Linked DNA regions of Homo sapiens: region 2 is linked to region 1. The links are contacts of gene promoters, found by promoter capture Hi-C in human tissues and cell types (Jung and others, 2019). All regions are on one chromosome and are shown on one strand. Each heading gives the region's core, a stretch centred on a gene start or on the middle of the fragment in contact. The rest is flanking DNA. Distances are from core to core; before and after follow the strand shown. Region 1 holds the start of LAX1 (lymphocyte transmembrane adaptor 1). Region 2 overlaps ZBED6 (zinc finger BED-type containing 6).

The links. The method cuts DNA at HindIII sites, captures the fragments that hold promoters and counts their contacts. A contact is called where the count stands out against the background at its distance.
Region 2: a contact is called between a fragment that was not itself captured here and the fragment with the promoter of LAX1 in region 1, in 1 of the 25 tissues and cell types used here (psoas muscle).

Annotation. Positions count from the first base shown.
Region 1 is chr1:203,763,729-203,766,869 of GRCh38, forward strand. It overlaps LAX1 (lymphocyte transmembrane adaptor 1), which reads left to right and starts at 1,455. Exons shown (of 5, transcript NM_017773.4): 1 at 1,455-1,926. The coding sequence starts at 1,838. RefSeq lists an enhancer at 1,338-1,697. The HindIII fragment of the contact is 24,847 bases long and covers 1-3,141 here.
Region 2 is chr1:203,797,823-203,800,963 of GRCh38, forward strand. It overlaps ZBED6 (zinc finger BED-type containing 6), which reads left to right. Exons shown (of 17, transcript NM_001395895.1): 1 at 1-3,141. The coding sequence ends at 2,640. All of the region lies in intron 1 of ZC3H11A (zinc finger CCCH-type containing 11A), which reads left to right. Among named protein-coding and RNA genes, the nearest start is that of ZC3H11A, 3.8 kb to the left of the region's middle. The HindIII fragment of the contact is 3,631 bases long and covers 1-3,141 here.

The sequences.
Region 1 (3,141 bases), core at 205-2,704:
TGTGGGGGCAGGAGAGAATTGGACAACCAGAGGGAAGATTGGTCTAACTGCAGCAGATTGGGTAGATAAGATAAGTGAGGCCCTGAAATGATCACATGCAATGGAAAAGTTCTTTAAAAAAAAAAAAAATTTTTTTTTTTTAATTAGCAGTCATGGTTCTGAGGTTTGGTTCCATGTGCCCTTTCCGTGTACTGCCTTCCGAGGTCCTGATTCTCACAGTCCCTTATTGGTTCCAATGGCCCAGGACCCCAGTCCTTGCCACCAGCATGATGGATCTTGTGAGTAGTCCTAGTTCCTACTCAGACCTGATCCAAAGGAGAAGTGGGCAGAGACCCAGGTTCCAGCTCCAGCACCAGCTGCCTCTGAGCCATTTCTGCTTCCTACCAGGTGAAGCTCCTGGGAGGGAAGGGGCCCAGGACCTGGAATGATAAAGCTCCCTGGAAAGCCAGCCATGGCCAGTCTGCAGCCCCTGGGGACTCTGTGAGAGTCTGGATGCAGACAGGCCAGGGGCTGCCACCTCAGGAAAGCTGAGGACCTCAATGTCCACTGGGAAGAGATGGGAGGGAGGCATGGTTCTAGGAGGGTACTGCTGGTCTGCCCTTCCATTCATCTGGGAATCCATTTCCTTGTGGAAAGTGCAATCAGAGAGGTTCTTCACATCCTTACAACAGTCTTAGTGGCCCCTTCTCTTTGGACTCTCCCAAGATGCAAAGAGTGTTTCCGGAGATTAGTAGGCTCAAGAAGGGAGGGGAGTTAGCAATAAATTTTGAACAATCTTCAAACACTTTGGGTAGCTCTTAAGGATGAACTTGTTCAGCTTCTGAGACAGGTGTGTGACAAGTAAGACTGTGACTGATCTTCAGAAGAGCCCTGAGAACAGGAGATCACCAGCAGCCAGGAGCTGTGGAAGGTTGCCTTGGGGGAGCAGGGGTCCTGCTAACCCAGCATAACTTCTATTCTTAAGGTAGTACCCAGAGCAGAGGTTCCCAAAACATGAAACACAGATGAGCTCCATCAAAATCACCTGAAAGCTCCATCAAATTCACCTGGAAAGCATCGATAGCCAAAGCCTGCCCCCTCTGCAGCCTCCACCCACTGAATCAGAAGAGGGTCCCGGAGATCTGCATTTCACTCTAAAAGGCAACCTCCAGTGCTCCTTAGACTTGCTTAGAAAATACTGTAAATCTGAAGACTTATACAACTCTAAGTGTCTCAGAAACTCAGGGTGAAGAATCACAAGTTCTCTACTACCCTGCCCCATTTTTAATCACACTCATCACAGACCACAGAGCACCTGGCAAACCCAGGAACGGTGGGTTGAAGATATGTTTTCTTCTAGCAGATTAAGAGCTGAGCAGAGTTTCCTGTGCCCTGTGCTTCATTAGCACATTGGTGGTGTCGTTTCCGGTGACTGACTCTCTGTTTCCATTCTGGCAAAGTGGTTTGCTCTTTTCACTCTGCTTTGGGTGTTGAAGGAAGACGAGCTTCTCACGGAGCCTCTCTTGAGCCTCTTGGCAGTTTCCCCCTCTGTGCCCCTCACGTTTCCACCAGAAACGTGAAGGCAGAGGCCACAGATTCTCCCTGAGCCACCTCACTTGGAAGCACCATGTCCGGATGAGATCGCACTTCCTGCAGTGGGCATTAGCCACGTCCAGGTAGAACCAAACCTGTTGCTTTTGTATGTTGGGTCAACTTGGCCTGACGTTTCAGAGGTAGACACGAGATAGGGAGTTTGTTGCGGGGGTGGGGAGAAGTGGTAGACATGCTGGCTAACTGATTATGATTAAGAGAAACTTAGAAGCTGAAGCCAGAGAGCATCTCAAAGGTTCCTGATACAATGGATGGTGTCACTCCAACCCTTTCGACAATCAGAGGGAGGACCTTGGAGTCCAGCACTCTGCATGTGACTCCCCGCAGCCTGGACAGGTGAGTGACTCAGGGTGGTGAGCTCCACCCTGCCCTGATTTAGGCAGAAGGTCCTAGTCCACCCTTAGGAGCTTCTTACACAGCAGTGCTGCCACCTCTCAACACCCAGGCTCGGTCTACTAAACCACCAAACTCTAGGCTTGGAGGCATTTGCTCAGGGGTGCTAGGGGGAAAGGAAGGTATTGAGGAAAGAAAGAAAATATTGTGGTAGAGGAAAAACTGTGATAACACTGGCCCTTAAAGCTAGTTGCTTAGACTGGTTGGATTTCTCACCTCTCGGAGGCCCTGAACCCTATCATCAGTCTTTCCTAGGTGTCACCATGACAGAAACAAAAGGCTGAGTTTTCCAAGGATGTGTTTTGAGATCCAAAAACTTGTCATGAATAAAAAATGTAGTGATAGATGTAATAAAGATACGTCCTTAGGACGTAAAATCTTACAGAACTAATCATGGGTATGAATTACTGCTACTACTTTCAATCTCATACAAACAAAATTAAAAATCCATCCACAGTTGAAACTTTAAAAACATTGGCAGCTGACTGGGCGCGGTGGCTCACACCTGTAACCCCAGCACTTTGGGAGGCCGAGTGGGGCGGATCACCCCCACTCTTGAACCAGCCTGGCCAAGACCAGCCTGGCCAACATGGTGAAACCCCGTTTCTACTAAAAATACAAAAATTAGCCGGGAGTGGTAGCATGCTCCTGTAGTCCCAGCTACTCAGGAGGCTGAGGCAGGAGAATCACTTGAACCCGGGAAACAGAGGTTGCAGTGTCATGTCATTGTACTCCAGCCTGGGCAACAAAAGCGAAACTCTGTCTCAAAAAATAAAATAAAATTGCAGTCGTTTGGGGAAATAAATGTTATTATCATGGCAAACACATGTCACTTGCTGGTAGATATGAGCATCAATGAGCAATGAATCAGAAGCCTGAAGCATCTCTCCAAAACTATTTCTTCATTTATTTTTATTTATTTCTAATTGGCAAATCAAAATTATATATATTTATCATGATAGCCTGTTGTTTTGAAATATGTATACATTGTACAATAGCTACATTAAACTAATTAAGATACACATTACTTCACAATTTTCTTTTGTGGTGAGAATACTTAAAATTTCTCAGCAATTTTCAAGAATATGACACATTTTTATTAACTATAGTCATCAACACTTTTTTTGTTTTGTTTTGTTTGTTTTTTTTATTTTTATT
Region 2 (3,141 bases), core at 190-2,689, 34 kb after region 1:
TTGTTAGCTTCCAATGACCCTGAGCAGGATGAAGAAAGTCTTTTTGAGAGCAATATAGAAAAACAGATCTATCTACCTAGTACTAGAGCCAAGACCTCCATTGTGTGGCACTTCTTTCATGTTGACCCCCAGTACACCTGGCGGGCCATTTGTAACCTCTGTGAGAAAAGCGTCAGCAGGGGTAAACCAGGTAGCCATCTTGGTACATCTACTCTTCAACGACATCTGCAAGCAAGGCATTCACCTCATTGGACCAGGGCCAACAAGTTTGGAGTTGCTAGTGGAGAGGAGGACTTTACCTTGGATGTGTCTTTATCTCCCTCTTCTGGAAGCAATGGAAGCTTTGAATATATTCCTACTGATCCATTAGATGATAATAGAATGGGCAAGAAGCATGATAAATCAGCATCTGATGCCCTAAGGGCAGAAAGAGGGAGATTTCTCATCAAAAGTAACATTGTCAAGCATGCTTTAATTCCTGGAACTAGAGCCAAGACATCTGCCGTTTGGAATTTTTTTTACACTGATCCTCAGCACATCTCAAGAGCTGTGTGTAATATATGTAAAAGAAGTGTGAGCCGGGGTAGGCCAGGGTCCCACTTAGGGACTTCAACACTTCAACGACACCTGCAAGCCACACATCCTATCCATTGGGCTGTTGCCAACAAAGACAGTGGTGCTGTTGCAAATGGATTAGATGAAGCTGAGACTGAGAGAAGTGATCTCTTGAGTGATACCTTGCATGGAGAAAAGTCTACAGGCAGCCAAGATTTAACAGCTGAGGACCTTAGTGACTCTGATTCAGATGAACCTATGTTAGAGGTTGAAAACAGATCTGAAAGTCCTATTCCCGTTGCAGAGCAAGGCACTCTGATGCGTGCGCAGGAGAGAGAAACAACATGTTGTGGAAATCCAGTCTCAAGTCACATAAGTCAGGCAATTATCCAAATGATTGTGGAGGATATGCATCCTTACAACTATTTCTCAACCCCAGCCTTTCAGAGGTTCATGCAGATTGTGGCCCCTGATTATAGGTTGCCATCAGAGACTTACTTTTTCACTAAGGCTGTACCTCAGTTATATGATTGTGTCAGAGAAAAAATTTTCTTAACTTTAGAGAATGTTCAAAGCCAAAAGATACACCTGACTGTTGACATATGGACCCATGACCCATCCACTGACTATTTTATTGTGACTGTACACTGGGTTTCTTTGGAAACTGCGTCTTTTCTCAATAATGGCAGGATCCCCGATTTTAGAAAGTGGGCAGTGCTTTGTGTTACAGGTTTGGCTAAAGACTGTTTGATAACCAATATTTTACAAGAATTAAATGACCAGATTGGTCTGTGGCTTTCTCCAAATTTCCTTATCCCTAGCTTCATTGTTTCTGACAATTCCTCTAATGTGGTACATGCAATCAAAGATGGTGGTTTTACCCATGTGCCATGCTTCCTGCATTGTTTAAATATGGTCATTCAGGACTTTTTCTGCGAGCACAAAAGCATTGAGAATATGTTAGTGGCTGCCAGGAAAACTTGTCATCATTTTAGTCATTCGGTCAAGGCCCGTCAGATACTGCAAGAGTTCCAAAATGATCACCAACTTCCATGGAAGAATTTGAAGCAGGACGAAACTGGCCATTGGATTTCTACTTTTTATATGTTAAAATGGCTCTTGGAGCATTGCTACTCAGTTCACCATAGTCTTGGTAGAGCCAGTGGAGTTGTGCTCACCTCCCTTCAGTGGACTCTAATGACTTATGTTTGTGATATTCTTAAGCCATTTGAGGAGGCTACCCAGAAAGTGAGCGTGAAGACCGCAGGATTGAATCAGGTGCTACCCCTAATCCATCATCTACTCCTTTCCCTGCAGAAACTCAGAGAAGATTTTCAAGTCAGAGGTATTACTCAGGCCCTCAATCTGGTGGATAGTTTATCTCTGAAACTTGAAACAGATACCCTACTAAGTGCCATGCTTAAATCCAAGCCCTGTATCTTGGCTACTTTGTTAGATCCTTGCTTTAAAAACAGTTTGGAAGACTTTTTTCCTCAAGGTGCTGATTTAGAAACTTATAAGCAGTTCCTTGCAGAAGAGGTCTGTAATTATATGGAATCTTCACCAGAGATCTGCCAAATTCCAACTTCAGAAGCTTCTTGTCCCTCAGTTACAGTGGGAGCTGATTCATTTACCTCATCTCTAAAAGAAGGCACCTCCAGTTCAGGTTCTGTTGATAGCTCAGCTGTAGACAATGTTGCCCTTGGAAGCAAAAGCTTCATGTTCCCTTCTGCTGTAGCAGTTGTGGATGAGTACTTCAAAGAGAAGTATTCAGAGTTCTCAGGAGGTGATGACCCTTTAATTTACTGGCAGAGGAAGATAAGCATATGGCCGGCTTTGACCCAGGTTGCCATCCAGTATCTAAGTTGCCCCATGTGTAGTTGGCAATCTGAATGTATCTTTACTAAAAATAGCCACTTTCATCCAAAACAGATCATGAGCCTGGACTTTGACAATATAGAACAACTGATGTTTCTGAAAATGAACTTGAAAAATGTTAACTACGATTATTCTACGTTGGTTCTGAGCTGGGATCCTGAGCAGAATGAAGTTGTTCAAAGCAGTGAAAAAGAAATACTGCCTTAATTTCTTTTTCTCCATTTAAAATGGGCAACTTTTTGCTGTGTTACTGTATCTTAATAGCTGTAGTTGTTAAATATAATCATTATCTTTATAAACACATCTGGGGAAACCTGAAATCACACAAGGGCTGAAAATTCCTCAGAGGCAATATAATTTTGATAAAATGAAGATTAAAGATTTCATAGCTATAACTGTGGCGCTAGCACTTGAAAATTTTGCTTATACCAATGAGAGAGAAGATATTTTTAATTAAAAAAAATATAGTGCAGCATTGAAAGGCCTTAGGCTTTCTTCCTGGTAGATTGAACTAGTAATTGGTTTTAAGTAAAACTTCCCCCACCATGGGAAATTTTATTGCTCTGAAATCAACGAAATGAGAAAAAAGTACACTGGCTGGCATTCCTCCTGCCCCTGTTTTTCTGTTTCCTTAAAAACCCTGATGCTTAATTACAACTTGGCAAAAAGAAAACCCGTGAAATTGTTTTATATTTGGAAATTTCTAAT